Regions from separate parts of the Homo sapiens genome. Here regions 2 and 3 are each linked to region 1. The links are contacts of gene promoters, found by promoter capture Hi-C in human tissues and cell types (Jung and others, 2019). All regions are on one chromosome and are shown on one strand. The core of a region is centred on a gene start or on the middle of the fragment in contact, and the rest is flanking DNA. Distances in the headings are between cores, read along the strand shown. Region 1 holds the start of EEF1D (eukaryotic translation elongation factor 1 delta). Region 2 has its middle 29 kb from the start of PLEC. Region 3 holds the start of GLI4 (GLI family zinc finger 4).

Region 1 (2,700 bases), core at 7-2,506:
GCGGGAGGCAGCGGGGGCTCTGTCGGCTGGGCGCTCACTCTGCCAGCACTGACTGCGTGTGAACCCTGCAGCAGCCCAGGGGAGATGCTGCTGTCTCACAGGATTGGCACTGCGCCCAGAAAGCCTCTACAGAGGCAGGTCTAGGAGCCTGGCTGGGCCTGAGGCATGTGGTGAGAAGGCGAAGGTGAGCGTCTACTTCCTCAGAGGACGCTCGGGGGCTCCTTCCACACCTGCCCAGCCCCTCAGCTGCATCCCCCACCCCCAGAACGGGGCTGGGCACACACGGGCTCCGGAAGTAACCAACTGCCTGCGAGCCAGCTGCTTAAGGCTCATGGGGTCCAGATGACGGGGTGGGCGGAGCTGTAGAAGGAGGCTGCTCAGGTGAGATGGCCTGGCCTGCCTCCCTGGGAGGTGAGCCGCAGGCAGTGTCAACTTAAGAAGCACCCCGCCCTGTCGGGCAGGGACAACCCCAAGTTTAGCTACACAGTTCTTCTGCTGCCAGGCGGTCCTTCATTCTGGAAACCAATCCTGACGTCTCATCAGGTCCCCAACCCACTCCGCCCCCTTTGCCTTCTTCCTTCCACTTAAAGCCTCTGAAAGTACTACTTCTTAGCAACAGCATCCCCGCCCCCTTCAGAGACTGCCCGACCACCCTATCCAAATCAAGAGACAGAAATTTTGACCCAGTCACAGTACAGGCTTATTCCTTTCCGTGCTCACTAGCGTCTAAGTTCCAAAAGTGTTGCGTCCGTGCCTATCCCCTCCGTGCTCAGCTGATGCGTGCAGTAACTGGTGCTTGACAAAGACGTGGTGTACGAAGGTCTGCAGGCCAGAGAAACAGCTGGGGCAGATGTCTGGTCTCCCACGGAGACGGCAGCAAACACAGGCCTTAGGCCCCAGCAGCCTGGCCGAGGGGCTTCCACGACCGGGATGCGCCGTGAGACAGTGCTCCCGGCGCCCCCGTCCCGCGGACGCCCTCCAAGCCGGCCACGTGGCCTCCGTCGCCCCGCCTCTCTGCGCTCGCCCCAAGTGCCGCACTTGGCCCACGGCCCCTAAGCCCGCGCTGGCGCACTTGTGCCTCAGTCCCTAACGGCGCGAGCTTCTGGCGCAGCCCGGGCCGCCCGCCCTCCCGGCCCCTCGGGCGTCTCTGTCGCGCCCGACTCCTTCCGGCGGGGGCCGCGGTACTCACACGCCAGCCAAGGACGCGGCGACCAAGGAGGAGGAATCGGCGGACGCGGGAAGACTGATGAAAGGGAGGGCCGCCCGGGCCGCGCACGGGAAATGAAGCACTGGGCTCTACCAAGAGCCACGGGCCGGGGGCCCGGGGGGGGGACGCGACCCTTGCACACGCCCCGCCTGGCCGCCAGGACCCTCGACGCGCCGTGCCCCGACACTTCAAAGGCAGAATTCCGTTGGAGATGACCGCGGAGGCCGCTCTTCCCCGGAGGAGTCTGCACAAGTGCTGGGAACGGGCGGCAGCGCGCGCGCCCCCCCTGCGCTTCGCGGCCAGTGGTGTCGCCGGTGGGGGCGGGTCCGGCAGCCGGCAAGCGCCGAGTGACGCACGAGGCGGCCAGCGCGCAGGCGCGGGGCGGGGCCGGGCCGGGCTAGGTCAGCGCGCGTGCGCCCGCCAAGCTGCGGGACAAAGGGGAGGGACCCGTGCGGCCCCGCCCCCGAGTGCCCCGCCCCGAGCGGCTGGGCGTGTGGCTCCCGCGACCCGCGCGGCCCGGGTCCCCCCCGCCGCAGCCATGTACCCCGCGGGCCCCCCGGCCGGCCCGGTACCGCGCCGCGGCCGCCGTCCCCTGCCCGGGCCCCCCGCGCCCGCCCCAGCCCCCGTCCCCGCTGCACGGCCGCCGCCCCCCGCGCCCGGGCCGCGGCCCCGCGTGGCCGTGAAGATGGCCTTCCGCAAGGCCTACTCCATCAAGGACAAGCTGCAGGCCATCGAGCGCGTCAAGGGCGGCGAGCGGCAGGCCAGTGTGTGCCGCGACTTCGGCGTGCCGGGCGGGACGCTGCGCGGCTGGCTCAAGGACGAGCCCAAGCTGCGCTGGTTCCTGGAGCAGCTGGGCGGTGAGGTGGGCACTCAGCGCAAGAAGATGCGGCTGGCCAACGAGGAGGAGATCGACCGCGCCGTGTACGCCTGGTTCCTGGCGCTGCGCCAGCACGGGGTGCCGCTGTCTGGCCCGCTCATCCAGGCGCAGGCCGAGGCCTTCGCGCGCCAGATCTACGGGCCCGAGTGCACCTTCAAGGCCAGCCACGGCTGGTTCTGGCGCTGGCAGAAGCGCCACGGCATCTCCAGCCAGCGCTTCTACGGCGAGGCCGGGCCCCCAGCCCCGAGCCCCGCGCCCGGCCCGCCCGTCAAGGAGGAGCCCGCGCTGCCCTCCGGCGCCGGCCCCCTGCCCGACCGCGCCCCGGCCCCGCCGCCCCCGGCCGAGGGCGGCTACGGGGACGAGCAGATTTACAGCGCCAGCGTCACCGGCCTCTACTGGAAGCTGCTTCCGGAGCAGGCTGCGCCCCCGGGCGCAGGGGACCCCGGGGCGGGGGGCTGTGGCCGGCGCTGGCGGGGCGACCGCGTAACGGTGCTGCTGGCCGCAAACCTGACCGGCAGCCACAAGCTGAAGCCGCTGGTCATCGGGCGGCTGCCGGACCCGCCCAGCCTGCGCCACCACAACCAGGACAAGTTCCCGGCCTCCTACCGCTACAGCC
Region 2 (2,700 bases), core at 146-2,645, 310 kb after region 1:
AGTTCAAGGGTGAAGCGCTCGCTCCTAGTTCACGGAACACACATTAAGAGGCTTCCGCTTTTGCTAATGGGTTGTGTCCATTATCCTTTCGTAGGGAATCTGTCTTTTCTCTCTAGCTGCTTTAATTTTTTTTTCTTTTTTGGTTTTCGGTTTTCCGCAATTTTACTACAATGTGTTTTGATGTAGATGTTTTATTTGCCATACCTGGGTTTTACTGTGCCTGTTGGATAAATGGTTCATGTTTTTCATCTATTTGGAAAACAATTATCAGCCACTATTTCTTCAAAACGTCCTCACCTTATTCCAGGATCTTCTTATAGAACCCCAGCTGGACTGATGCTAGATGTCTTCTGTTCTGCCTCCTAACCTCTCTTTCCTGTTTCCCATCTCTGGGATAAATTCTGAGTAATTTCTTTAGATCTATCCTTTAATTCACCAATTCTTCAACTATGATTCGTCTGCTGTTTAGTCCATTGAGCTTTAAATATTATTAGTATATGTTTCATTTCTAGAAATTCTATCAAATTTCTTTAAAATCTTCTTGCTCTTTTTAGCTAGAATTTTACTTCTCACATTATGGATTTGTTGTGTTATAAACATTTCAAACATACTCACTGTGTATTCTTTATTGAATAATTCCAGTATCCTGCGTCCCTCAGCTTCCAGTTCTGCCCTTGTTCATGATGCTCGTTTCCATGCGTCTTGTAACTTTTGACTGCGTCATGTTGGAAAGCCCGAGGTCTTTTATCTGAAGCCTGGGAAGCCTTGGTTGGGGGCAAGACCTCCAGATAAGATTATATTGGCTCATACCAGGTACCAGGCAACAACCAACCTGGGGCCATGGTGATGTAATTCCTCCACATGGGGTTCTCCAGACCCTACAGGGGGATGGCCTGAAATTGTAAAGCTCAGTGGAAACGCTTTCCTGTCAGAGCCCAGGCAGGATCCAGTGTTTCCCTTCTGTGGCTGGATCGTCGGAGAACCCGCTTTCTCGCTGGGTGCAGCCCTTTGAGGATCCGGATGCCACAGAGGCCTCTGGCTGTACGGCCCGCATCCCGGCCTCCTGTTCCTGAGGACCTTTAAAACCCGAGGCTTCAGCCTTCCAGGATCAGCAAATTCCTCGGGAAGCGTCAGCTCAGCCGCTGCACTGAGGACCCTCCTTTCTCTTTCACCCCTGGTGGTTTCCTTGTCTTTTTGGTAACGTCAGAATGCACCCGAGAAGCTATTTAAGTTTTACCCGGATTTACGTGGGAGGAGTTTTCAAGGGTCTCTCGGTCCGTCTGCGCTGCTACTGAGGAGCTGCCACCGTGAAGGCAGCTGCCGTGGCCGATCCTCCAAGATCCCCTTGGGTGTCCTTGTTCCCCTCCCCAGCTGCTGCAGACGCTCACCTGTGTCCTCCTCCAGAACACTGCCCTTGGCTGACAAGAGCTGCTCATTCAGAGATGCCTGAGGACCACGTGCCACCCCACAGGCAGCTCAGACCCACGTGTGGGCAGGAGTCAGAGCCTCTGAGCTGTGCCCTTGCCTCTCAGATGTCCGTGGGGCAGGGCTACGGCTCCAGCCCCCTTTGCCAGCTCCTTGCCCTCCCCACTTGTTGCACCCCTTTTCTGAGAATTCTCCAGAAACCATGTGTAACTGAGGCACCGCCCTGGGGAGCCTGCCTGGGATGGGGGGGCGCAGACGTGGTCCTGGCGCACAGATGCCACAGTTGGTCAGAACACCACCGACTGCCTGGCGATGCTGTCAGCCTGGCACCAATGGCAGTGCAGCCGCTGGAGCTCCCACCTGTTGAGACGTGCTGGCAGCGGGAGGGAAGGTGGGGGCAGCGGCCAGAAGACCCTGACCATGGGGGCCCATGAAGCTGGCTCATGGAGCGCCACAGTCTGACAGGAGACGCAGATGGGCAGCCTGCAAGGAGCTGCTCACTACACTGGTTCTCACACTCAGGCACATGGCAGCCCCTGGAGGGCTCCTTAAAGCACAGCTGGCTGAGCCCCAGGCCCAGGATTTCTGACTCAGTTGGTCTGTGCCGCGGCCAAGGCTCTGCCCCTTCCAAGCTCCCAGGTGGTCCCGGGGCACACTCGGAGGACACTGGCTCAGCACGCGGCACCCACAAATTTTAAAACGAGTGAGTGAGTCCAGGCCCACTGCTCTGATGGAAAACACAACCACTTGCTTTGTTTCCTTATGTCAGCCAGTTCTCAGAGCCAGAGCCCACAAATGGAAAGAGCGGCCAGGTCCCCTTGTGAAAGGCCTCACGCCTCCAAGTGTGGACAGCAGTGACCCCCCAGTCCCTCCAGGGACCCAAAGATGCTTATCTGGACAACTGTGCCCTGGGGAGAGGAAGACGCCCAGATCAGGGTCTGAGTGGACGCTGACACCTGGGGCGCAAAGCACCCTCAGAGGCTCCCATCTGGGTAGGGAATATGGGGTCAGGAAGGACCTGGAGTCCTGGCCCAGGCCTCAGCCCATCATTTCCCAGCCCAGGAACGTGCAATTGGAACTGGCATGCTCAACAGCAAATCCTCACATGGGCTTTTTGGCCCATGGAGTAAAAATCACTGTAGTAGGAAAGACCAAATGGAAACCTTAGAAACTACCCCCAGCTCCAGCCAAGGAAATAAAACAATACAACCTCCTGGTCAAAACGGCGGCGTCAGCAACACCGCAGATGCCTAAAGGGTGCATGGGTGATGGCCA
Region 3 (2,700 bases), core at 199-2,698, 330 kb before region 1:
GAAGTGGCGCGATCTCGGCGCAATGCAACCTCCGCCTCCCGGTTCAAGTGATTCTCCTGCCTCAGCCTCCCAAGTAGCTGGGATTACAGGTGCCCGCCACCGTGTCCGGGTAGCTTTTTTATATTTTTAGTAGAGATGGGGTTTCTCCCTGTTGGTCAGGCTGGTCTCAAACTCCCCACCTCTGGTGATCCACCCACTTCAGTGTCCCAAAGTGCTGGGATTACAGGCGTGAGCCACTGCGCCCGGCGCTACTTATAACTTTTTAAGAAACTACCAAGCCAATTTCTAGAATGGCAGCACCACTTTGCCTTACCACTGGCGATGTCCCAAGCTGCTCCGCGACCTCAGTGATGCTTGGCACTTGTTAGCAGTTTTTACCTGAGCCACCTGGCAAGTGTGCAGTGGCACCCACCGCGATGCTGGCCGGCCCTTCCCTGACAGCCATCCCTTCCCGAGCCTATTGCCATCCCTGTGCCCTCTTCGGTCAAACGTCTGTTGCGGCTCTTGCCAATTTTCTAACTGGAATGTTTGTTTTCTTGCGGTAGAGTTTAGAGATTTTTACATATTATCAGCCTGGGGGCTCCTCCACCCACACAGCCCTGAGCGTCCACCCTGGCAGCTGTTGCCCGTCTGCAGGCCCCCCCGCCCTCTGCTCCGCGTGCCCCTCCAGCTCAGGGGTCCCCTCGCCTCGGCTCTCTGCACCCCTGCTCAAAACGGTCAAAGAACCCTCCCCGGCCGTTTATTTTTCCCAGAAAGTGACAATTTTCTCTTTTCAGGTCGTAAGCACAGAACTGAGGGAGAAACTGTGGCTGAACAAGAGGAAAATGAGGAAGGAGTCCATGAAGGGGCTTTGGGGAACCTGTAACATCCTCCTCAGGCTCCCGGGGACGCCCCTGGAAAGCAGGCAGAATCGAGGGCGCTGGGGCCCCCGCGAGGGGAGCGGGAGGTCGCGCGTCTCGCAGCGGTTCCCGGCCGCCGGTGACCATCGCTGCGGACACATCCCGAGGAGGGAACCCAAGAGGGCGGCGGGGGGGACTCGCGAGCTGAACGTGGAAGCAACTCCAGCCGAGGACCCCCGGAGGCCTGGAGTGCACGGAGGGGCCGCGGGCAGCGTGGGGACGGCGCCGTCATCTCCCGAAGCCCGGCCCCGCGCTGGCTCCCCGGGCGGTGCAGGGCCGGCGTCGGGAAGGAGGCTCCGAGGCGCCGGCTTCTGCGCCCCACGCAGCGCCGCTCCCCGCGCCCGGGCGCTTTGCAGGCGCGGGCGGGATCCGGGCCAGCGTGTACGCGAAAGCCACGCGCGGGCGCAGCCCACGAGGGGAGGGGCGGGGAAAGGCCTCCTCTTCGCTCCCGGCCCCGCCCCCACACGGCCACCGAGGCGTGCGGTCCTCCCGGGGCCCAGAGCGTCCCGGAAGTGCGCGCCGGCCGGGCGGAGTGGGGCGGGGCCGGACACTTCCGTCCGGCGCGCGGCGTCCTCCTCCCGCTCGGAAGGTGAGTGGGCGCGGGCGGCGGCGGCGGCTCCGGGTGCCTGGGACCAGCCCAGTCCGAGCTCGTGCGCCGTACTCCGCGGTGCAGCCCTGCCCAGCCGGGCCGTGCGGCCCTTGCAGCCGCCGCTCGCCGTGACCTTGGCCTTGGGCCAAGCCCGGGGAGCGGGGTGGGCTCCTGGGGGTCGCGGAGCAGCAGCGGACCGCCCCGCCCAGCGGCCCTGGCGATAGCGGGTGTCCGTTCGCAGGGCGCCTTTCCCAGGCACCCAGTGACGGCAGCTGTCGTCATCGCCACTCTGCAGATGGGAAACTGAGGCCCGGAGGTCCCGCCGCTCCGGAGCGAGGAGCCGCCGGACCCCAGCGCCGCACCGCCGGGCGGACGCGCTCTGTGCCGAGCTCCCGGCGATTGGGTCCGCTCCCACGGGGCTGGGAACAGAGGGGCAGAGGATGCTTCCCCCGAGCCGCTGGCAGGAGTGCCCTTCCCCCTTCAGTCTGGAGCTCAGAGTTTGTGCGTCCCTGGGGGTGAAGGGGCGTCCACGCTGTGATGGTCGCCTCTGCTCAGTCCTGGGGGCCAAGCCAGGGTCGGGGTGATCGAGCAGGCCCTTTTACCAGGTGTCCCCAGTAAGTTAACTAAGTAACTTGAGATGTGACTTCAGGGTGGAGGACCTGCACCCAGTGGCCACCTACCTGGTGACCTGACCCTTCCCATCATTAGGGGATGGAGGCTGGCCCAGAAGCCGGGCACTGGGGTGGCGGCCGTGTGGGAGCTGCCTCTCCCACTTCCTCGAAGCAGGCACTGTCTGCTGTTCTTAGATCTGAGTATCCGTTAACTTTTGTCCTCTTTTCCCGTTCCTTTCTTCACTCCCTGCCCCAGATTAGGAGTTCCTACTCTATCACAGTATGAAAGAAAAGTCACTTTTCACATTGGACTCAAGCCGTTTTTGCAAAGTAAACTAAGAAGTGTCTTGGAGCCCTGAGTGAGTCTCCCAGTGCTGCTGCAGGGCTGGACTAGGGGATTCCAGCCTGCAGTCTCTGAGGGCTCTGTAGGGTCTGAGGAAGAGAGTTGCCCTCTGGAAACGTCTCTTCTCTGCTGTTCGGGAAAAACCTTATTAAGATTTCCTCCAAAACACTCATGCGCAGCAGGCATGGTTCGGTTTTCAGCCCTCCCACAGGGCCAGCAGCTGAGGTTTTTCTGGAAGACTCCCTATGCCTTTCTCTG

Evidence for each region. The method cuts DNA at HindIII sites, captures the fragments that hold promoters and counts their contacts. A contact is called where the count stands out against the background at its distance.
Region 2: a fragment that was not itself captured here is called in contact with the fragment with the promoter of EEF1D in region 1 in 1 of the 25 tissues and cell types used here (dorsolateral prefrontal cortex).
Region 3: the fragment with the promoter of GLI4 here is called in contact with the fragment with the promoter of EEF1D in region 1 in 1 of the 25 tissues and cell types used here (H1 embryonic stem cells).

Annotation. Positions count from the first base shown.
Region 1 is chr8:143,596,159-143,598,858 of GRCh38, forward strand. EEF1D (eukaryotic translation elongation factor 1 delta) reads right to left here and starts at 1,257. Exons shown (of 10, transcript NM_001130053.5): 1 at 1,190-1,257. It overlaps TIGD5 (tigger transposable element derived 5), which reads left to right and starts at 1,673. Exons shown (of 1, transcript NM_032862.5): 1 at 1,673-2,700. The coding sequence starts at 1,746. RefSeq lists an enhancer at 1-504. The HindIII fragment of the contact is 45,525 bases long and covers 1-2,700 here.
Region 2 is chr8:143,909,154-143,911,853 of GRCh38, forward strand. No RefSeq gene overlaps it. Among named protein-coding and RNA genes, the nearest start is that of PLEC, 29 kb to the right of the region's middle. The HindIII fragment of the contact is 9,347 bases long and covers 1-2,700 here.
Region 3 is chr8:143,265,997-143,268,696 of GRCh38, forward strand. It overlaps GLI4 (GLI family zinc finger 4), which reads left to right and starts at 1,449. Exons shown (of 4, transcript NM_138465.4): 1 at 1,449-1,488. RefSeq lists silencers at 915-1,624, 1,785-1,904 and an enhancer at 2,465-2,700. The HindIII fragment of the contact is 9,983 bases long and covers 1-2,700 here.